Linked DNA regions of Homo sapiens: region 1 is linked to region 2. Evidence: promoter capture Hi-C in 16 types of primary human blood cells and fetal thymus (Javierre and others, 2016). All regions are on one chromosome and are shown on one strand. Each heading gives the region's core, a stretch centred on a gene start or on the middle of the fragment in contact. The rest is flanking DNA. Distances are from core to core; before and after follow the strand shown. Region 1 has its middle 45 kb from the start of JRKL. Region 2 holds the start of ENDOD1 (endonuclease domain containing 1).

Region 1 (4,107 bases), core at 1,153-3,652, 1.3 Mb after region 2:
CCCCCATGACACAGTTTACCTATATAATAAACCTTCACAGTTACCCCTGAACTTAAACATTAAAAACGAATACAATTAAAAATAAAACAAAATTTACATAACTTTCAATCTAGTATTTTTGTGTTTAGGAATTTATCCTAAGGAAAGAATCATGGTTATGTGCCAAGATTGTGTAACAAAGACATTGATTGTAATAACAAAACCAGCAAACAACCTAATTGCATTTAAAAAAAAATTTCAACTTCTACTTTAAGATTCAAGGGGTACACGTGCAGGTTTGCTACATGGATATGTTGTATAATGCTGAAGTTTGGGGTACAATTGATCTTGTCACCCAGTAGTGATCACAGTACTGCTAATAATATGTCACTGGTTATATAAATTAATTTTGACATACCATGTAATCATTAAGCGATATTGCAGAAGAATGTTTACTAGCATAGAAAAAAAATCAATTTTTGACATGAGAAAAGAGGTCACAAAGTGTTTGTAATTCTTGTTCTACTTCTCTGTTTAATAAATACATACATCCCCTAAAATGGTAGGAAGAAGGATTTACAAACGATCTGTAGTAATATTTGGGTGGTGGGCCTAATAGTAATGCTTTTTTTTCATAGATATATTTTGTAGTTTTCTATAGTTTGCATTTATAAATTGTATAATAAAACCCCACAAAATTATATATTTGTTAATTTTTCTTGTAAGAAATTCTTATAAAATTGAAAATTCAGGGTTAAGTGTCCTGGTATATTTGTAACAAGTGTTCTGAGCTAAACCCAGTTGAAGACTGAGAATCCTTGTCAGAATCAATTACCAGTTACTGAGAGAAAAAGCTTTGGTTTCTGGGGCAAGTTGTGGACAGGCAGGCAGAAATCAACCTCAGCTCTTATCAGTGCTGAGCTCTCCCTCCTAGGCTCTGTGCTTGGGAAAAGCTTCCTTTAGCAGAGGCTGCTTTGGGAAAGAAGAATATATCATACCTGGAGCTTCAGCAGAAGTGGAAAATGGGTTCTGTGATCTTTAAAATATTGTAGGGAATAATAAAGAACTGTCATGTCAAAGCTGCAAATCATCTGTCTCCTGCAAGAGGCTCTGATATGGATGCATATTTGCTGTGGAATGTTCTTTCTTATCAGAAAGTCACTTGTGTATGCAAATGTAGAACAAAACGTAATGAGAAAAAAGTTTGAAAAATGGCAAATAAACTCGGTTAAGGTTTAAATAACTCTTTGGGATAATGCAAAAATTTGTCTTTATATTGCAGGCAGAGTTGCTTCTCTGCATAGCTGTTTCCTTTGGAGAGAGATTTCTTCCCTATGTTTGTAGTTTTTAATTTTAAAAATGTTATTTATTTATTTTTTAATTAACAAAGATTGTACACATTTACTGTGCACAACATGATGTTTTAAAACCTGTATACATTGTGGAAGGCTAAATCAAGCTAATTAATATGTATTACCTCACATACTTATCATTATTTTTTGTGGTGAGAACACCAAATATACTCTTTTGGCAATTTTCAATCACACAATACATTATTATTAACTATAGTTGCCATGCTGTACAATAGATCTCTTGAACTTATTCCCTTTGTCTAACTAAAATTTTGATCTTCTCAATCCCAGACACTGCCCTAGCCCCTGTGGACAATCATTCTACCCTCTGCTTCTATAAGTTTGACTTTTACATTATATATATAAGTTTTTGTCTTCAGTGCCTGGCTTATTTCACTTAAAATAATGTCCTCCAGGTTCATACATGTCATTACAAATATTAGGATTTCTTCATTTTTTAATGGCTGAATAGTATTCTGCCTTGTTATTCTGTTTTGCATTACTATAAAAGAATACCTGAGACTGAATAATTTATAAAGAAAAGAGGTTTATTTGGCTCATAGTTCTGCAGGCTGTACACGAAGCATGGCACCAGCATGTGCCTCTGGTGAGGTCCTCAGGAAGCTTATTATCATGGTGGAAGGCAAAAGGGGAGCAGGCATCTCATGGCAAAAGAGGGAGCAAGACAGACAGGAGCAAGAGAGATATCATATTCTTTTAAACAACCAGCTCTTGAATGAGCTCATTACTGGGTGGAGGGTACCAAGACGTTCATGAGGGAATCTGCCCCCTTGACCCAAATATCTCCCACTGGGTCCCACCTCCAACATTGGGGATCACATTTCAACATGAGATTTGGAGGAGACAAATATCCAAACCATATCATCTACTGTGTATATATACCACATTTTAAAATCCATTCATTCGTTAATGGACACACAGGTTGATTCCATGTCTTAGCTATTGCGAATAATGCTGCAACTAACATGGAAGCACAGATCTCTCTTGAACATACTGATTTCACTTCATTTAGACATAGATCAAGAAATGGGATTGCTGGATCATATAATAATATAATGGTTCCATTTTTAATTTTCTGAGGAATCTCTCAACTGTTTTCCATAACGGCTATACTAGGTTACATTTCATTTATACCAACTGTGTGCAAGGGTTCTCTTTTCTCCACATCTTTGCCAACACTTGTCTTTTTATCTTTTTGATAATGGCCATTCTAATAGTTGTGAGGTGATATCTCATTGTGGGTTTCATTAGCACTTTCCTGATTAGTAATGAGCATTTGTTCACATACCTGTTGTCCATTTGTATATCTTCTTTTGAGAAATGTCTATTCAGGTCCTTTGTCCATTTTAAAATCAGATTATTCGCTTTCTTGCTATTGAGTTGAATCTCTTACATATTTTGAATATTAATCACTTACCAGATGTGTGGTTTGCAAATATTTTCTCCCATTCTGTAGATTTTCTCTTTACTCAGTTGATTGTTTCCTTTGCTATATAGAGAAGCTTCTTAGTTTGGTGTAATTCTATTCCATTTTTGCTTTTGTTGTCTTGCTTTTGTGATTATATCAAAAAAATCATTGCCCAGATCAATGTCATGAAGCTTTTTTCCTATGTTTTCTTCTAGAAGTTTTAGAGTTTCTGATCATATATTTCAGTTTTTATTCGACTTTGAGTTGGTTTTTGAATATGATTTGAGATACAGGTCCAATTTTATTCTTCTGCATGTGGATATTTAATTTTTACAACACCATTTATTGAAGAGACTGTCATTACATCATAGTGCGTTCTTGGCATTTTTGTCAAAAGTTAATTGACCATAAATGTGTGAATTTATTTCTGGGCTCTCTATTCTGTTTCATTGGTCTACATGTCTGTTTTTATGCCAGTACCACACTGTTTTGATTGTAGCTTTGCAGTATGTTTTGAAATCAGATAGTCCTTCAGTATTGTATTTAAATTGCAACATGCTTCCACTGTGTGTGTGTGTGTGTGTGTGTGTGTGTGTGTGTGTGTGTAGATGTGGGTGGAAATGTGCTTATTTTTATTTGTTTATATTAGAGTCGTTGGTTAGCGAAGTCAGGAGTTCAGACGAAAACAAAAACAAAAACAAAACTGCAACAGATGAAATGCAAGCAGAGGAAAGACCATAAAAGAGAACTAAGCTGGTTTGTAGATGCTCAACATCCATTGGAGTATAAATACACTATATATAATGGAGAAATGTTAAAAATGAAAACCATTGTCTTTTTTTTTTTTTTTTTTTTTTTTTACTGTGCATGGAAGTGAGATGTAAAGAAAAAAAATTTTCCTTTTCTGTGAATATTGCTTGAGATGAAGCTGATGCAGCTGTGATGAGATTGTCTGCTATGATTGTTGGGGTCACAGGACTGACTTCCATGGGTGCCAAGTGTACTTGCCCCTGAAGGAGATAAATTTTTCCCACTGCCAGTTTTCTGGAACAGAAAATGAGGATGGAAAGGCAGGCCTCGGGTTGGTTAAAGAAGGAACTCCTTTCTTTGTAATGTTGTCTTGAGTCTACTGTAGGTATTCTCATATGCACTTGCAACAGTGCTGGGAAGTAATTTTCTGCCACAAGGAAGCAGGCTTGCAGCTACACAGGGAAGCAAACTGCAAAAGTCCCATAATAATAATCAGGGAGCCTGTAAAAGCCCAATGAGACTAATTCAGGAAGCATGGATTCAGACGGCTGCTATATAAAATGCCTTAATTTTTTTTTAATGTTGTATTTCCCATCT
Region 2 (4,422 bases), core at 217-2,716:
GGTTACAGGTGTGAGCCACCCATTTATTCTGTGCCACTTCAATCTACCAGTCTCTTCCCTGATAGCAAAAAGAATCGAGTCACCACCTTTAAAAGATGAAAATCCTCAACATGATTTACAATATTTTTTCCAAACTGCAGGTCATGAGCCATTAGTGGCTCATAGAAACAATTTAGTGGGTCAACACCAGCACTTTTTTAAAAAAGTGAAGTAGAACAGAAATATGAAATTGCAATGCCAATCATAAGCATAAGAATTATTTCATCAAACTTTTCTCATTATGGGCCTTCTCAAAAAGTGTTTGAAGGCCTCTGGCCTATAATAACCTGAGTAATATGACCCCTGCCTCCTCCTTTAGCCCCACTTCCCATCATCCCCCACGCGGTTCTCCGCGCTTTACCCACACTAGCCTTCCTTAAATTCCTCCAATACATCATGTTCCCTTCTGTGGGAGACCACTTAGCACATGGTTTTCCTCCTTGCCTAGTTAATGTCATCCTCCAGGTCTCAGCTCAGATGCCACTTCTTCAGGCAAACCTTCCCGGATTACATCCTGAACCCCTGTAGCTGTCAGGGTCTCACAGATCTGTGTTCAGTTTTTAGTTATCCCTTTAATAGCATGTTTCCTCGGTTAATGACAAACTTTCCCACTAGGCTGTCTTTGTGACCGCAGGAGCCCTGCTCTTGTTTACCCCTGTGGTAATCCAGTGCCTATCTCAGGCTGGCACCTAGGCATTCAGAGGGATAAATGAAGGAAAGAATTGGCCAACCTGTTGACCAATGACGTTGGCTGGCCTCCTTCCTTGCTTGGTATCGGTTTTGTTTCTAACACTTGCACCAAGAAAACCACACAGGGTTATACTGTCTGCCTAGTTTAGGAACTTCCTTTAACAGTATTTCTTTACTCTCTGAGTTTCTGGTGAGCTAAAAAAACATAACAAAAAACAAAAAACTCCATCAAAATTGTATGCGTGTGCTGGTCGTTGAGTACTTCGGTGGAGAGTGGGAGACGCATCTTCATGAAATTTCAGAGGGGAACTCTGCCCATCCACTCCGAACCAGCCGCAGCTCCACGAGCATCTCACGCCACCCCTCTGCATCACCAGGGCGGCCGTGGGGCGCGCGCGATCAGCAGGCTTCTTGGCGCCCAGTCCATGCGACTATCTCTTCCCAGCCCCGGGACTAGGCCCGCCCCACTCGGATTCTCCACTCTTGGTAGCGCGCGTCCCCCGGACTGCTGAGACCAGGCGGCGCGGAGGCAGGTGACCCGCGTCTCCAGTCCCGGGCGCAGCCCAGGGTACGTTGTCAGCATCGCGGAGCGCGGCCCTGGGCCTCTGCAGCCATCTTCAGGGAGGGAGGCGCGGCCTCCCGACGCGGACCCGCCCCCGCCGCCCGGGCCGCCCCGCCCGGCTCCGCAGAGCGCCGCGCCTAGGTTGCGACTTCCCTTCCCTACCCTGCTCGGCTGCGTAGTGCGCTCCCCGCCCAGCCTGCAGAGCTCGCGCCGCGGCAGCCCAGCCGCTCGGCCCCGCCGCGCTCGCAGAGGCCGCCATGGGCACCGCGCGCTGGCTCGCGCTGGGCAGCCTCTTCGCCCTGGCTGGGCTGCTGGAAGGCCGGCTCGTGGGCGAGGAGGAAGCCGGCTTTGGCGAATGTGACAAGTTCTTCTACGCCGGGACCCCGCCTGCGGGGCTGGCGGCCGATTCCCACGTGAAGATCTGTCAGCGCGCGGAGGGTGCTGAGCGCTTCGCCACCCTCTACAGCACCCGGGACCGCATCCCCGTGTACTCCGCGTTCCGCGCCCCGCGCCCTGCGCCCGGCGGCGCCGAGCAGCGATGGCTGGTGGAGCCGCAGGTAAGCGAAGTGGTTCCCGAGCCGGGCTGCGGGCGCCGGAGACCGTGCCGCTGGACATGCCCCCAGTTGCAGCTACCGCGAGGGGCGGGCCGGGAACAGCAATCCCTACGCCTTCGGTGCCTTGGGCCAAGAAACCCGGGTTCCAGGTCCACCCTGTTGCGTCCCCGGAGTTAGCCTGCCTCGCCCCTGTCGAGCTACAATAAGAGCCTGGCGATCTGCGAGCCTTCACTTCATGAGCTGCAGGGCGGGAGGTCCCCTGTGGGAGGAGGTTCTCCCTGCATTTCTGAGCAGACATCCGCAGTGTTTCATTCCTGAATGGTGAAGAGCTTGATACAGAGACCCTGGAGACCGTTCAGATCCGCAGAAAGCCTAGGCTGGGCGCTCACAGGCCTTCGTGCAACTTATTGCCATAGCACTCATTTGGAGGTGGGTAGGTGGGCATTTTCATCCCCATTTTACAGAAGAGGAGATAAACCCAGGGGGTGAAGAGACATATGGAAGACTACCCAGTTAGTAAGATGGGGCAGGTCTCTGTCTAGAAATTCACTGCCTTTTCTACTAAGTAAAGCTTCTCTTCTGCAGAGCTCATCCTAGCCTGAAAATCCTTCCTCTACCACGGCGTTGAGTAAATTCGATCTGCGGTTGTGTTGAATTAGAACAATGAAATAAAGATACAGATTTTTAGAAACGCAATGGGGTAGTTAAAAATGATAGGGAAACATTGACTACCTCCAACTGATGGAAAGATAAGCCAGTTTTTCCTGACTCCTCATATCTATATTATCATACCACTAGGAAATCGTGTCACCTCTCATGGTGTTCTGTCCCGTCTGGTAAAGGTGACCAAACACTTGAGAAGCCCTCAGAGTCTTCCGAACCTGCTGGCCTGCTCTTAATACCTCTCCTCAGTTGGCCTCCTCTCTAGAACACCCTGCCAGACTCCCCTTTGCCCTCTCACCAGCCTCCCACCCCTGCCCAGGCTGCTGGGGGAAGAACTGACCCAACGCTCTCCCTTTCCTGACGGCCACAGCTGCCCAGGACCACACCAGTGGACAGGAGGCTGGCTTTCAGGTGCTTTATTCAGAGCCTGTGGGTTGTAATCTCATTCAGATATTTCTAGCTCTGAGGTCTTGGCCAGGTCTCAAACAATCTGCACCTAGTTTTCTTATCTTCCTCACATCCTTCCACCTACCTCAACTGTTGATAACACTTGTCGAGATCAGGCATGTGAAAAAGACGTTGTCAGTTGCACACACAAGACACATTTAAATCCAAAATTAGTTTTCCACCAGCTGCACCCCTAGAGCTCACAGGGTGTTCCCCACCTCTCATCTTGCATTGTGATTGTGTGCCTGCGAAGAAAACAAATGAGCTAGTTCTTTCCCCTTGATCTCATGGACAGCTTGGGGAGACAGAACATACGTCTGAGGAAATCATGGGAATGGATGCTAAACAAATTTCAGTTAAATTCAGAACACATTTAGTGACTCCTGCTGTGTGCCAGATATTTGGGACCAAGAGATCTGAGTGCAGTTCTGGAACAAAGGCTACCTGATCTGCAGGTGGAGTTTGCTGGGTGGAGAGGTGGTGTAGTATCTGATTAGAGCCATGCTATGTGGGTTCATATCCTAGTTGCTCCACTGACTAGCTATGAACTTGGGCAGGTTAAATTGGAGATAATAGCATAGGGTGGTGTGAAGATTTAATGAGTTACCATATATAAAGTTCTCAGGTGTGTGACACATGAGTACTAAGTACTAGCTGTTGCTATGACCTAAGCAAAAAACCATAATTTAATAAAGGTGAACAAAGTCCTATTAGATTTAATCTGTCTTTGAGGTGATGGAAGCAAGCCTTAGGGTCAGGATGACATTTCTGCTGTGTGTGGAAAGATAAGGCAGAGTTTAGAAGGGAGGCAAGGAGGAGGACATTTCAAGCAGAGGGAACAAACATCATGAGTGAGAAAGGCATGGCAGATTCAGGGATTTGTGCGTGAAGAAGTTGGAACAGGTAAACTAATACAAATAGATGAATGCACTCAATTGCTCAGAATAAAAAGGAATCATGGAAGGGAGGGATCAGGTGGGGAGGAGCCACCAAGGAAGGCTTAGGGAGGCAGAGCCATTTATGCAGCTAGGGAAGGAGTGAGTCGTAAAGGAGCATAGTTTGACAGAAAGAAGTACAGGGAACCAGGTAACATGGAGACCCTGGGTGAGATAATGAGGAAGGGGACTGTGGAGATTAAAGAAGATGGGAAGGGAGGGTGGAAATAGTTACAAATGGCAGCTTGAGAGGTAAGATGTACAGCGGTTCTGAAGAGTACAAGGGGCCTGAGTTCCTGCTGTGCTGAGAGGTCAGAATGGTCACTGTGGCTGAGCACTGCAGGATGCTTTTCCCTGCAAGGTGGCTGGCCTCCCACATCCACCCGCTCGACCTCAAGTCAAGTCAGCCAGGATCCAGAGAGTATTGGGAGAGAGGGAGGGAGGAGGAGGTGTGAGGTGCAGCTGGGCCTGGAGTGCACTGCAGCAAACCTGCCCCCACTGTTGCCTGCTCCCTGAGGCCCTGCCTCCCAGC

The links. Contacts are between HindIII fragments. The CHiCAGO score rates a contact against its expected background, and 5 or more counts as called.
Region 1: a contact is called between a fragment that was not itself captured here and the fragment with the promoter of ENDOD1 in region 2, in 1 of 17 cell types (activated CD4 T cells). The highest score is 6.0, in activated CD4 T cells.

What each region holds. Positions count from the first base shown.
Region 1 is chr11:96,433,142-96,437,248 of GRCh38, forward strand. No RefSeq gene overlaps it. Among named protein-coding and RNA genes, the nearest start is that of JRKL, 45 kb to the left of the region's middle. The HindIII fragment of the contact is 899 bases long and covers 1,954-2,852 here.
Region 2 is chr11:95,088,380-95,092,801 of GRCh38, forward strand. ENDOD1 (endonuclease domain containing 1) reads left to right here and starts at 1,467. Exons shown (of 2, transcript NM_015036.3): 1 at 1,467-1,848. The coding sequence starts at 1,549. RefSeq lists enhancers at 869-1,148, 1,219-1,278 and a silencer at 1,289-1,718. The HindIII fragment of the contact is 8,670 bases long and covers 1-2,414 here.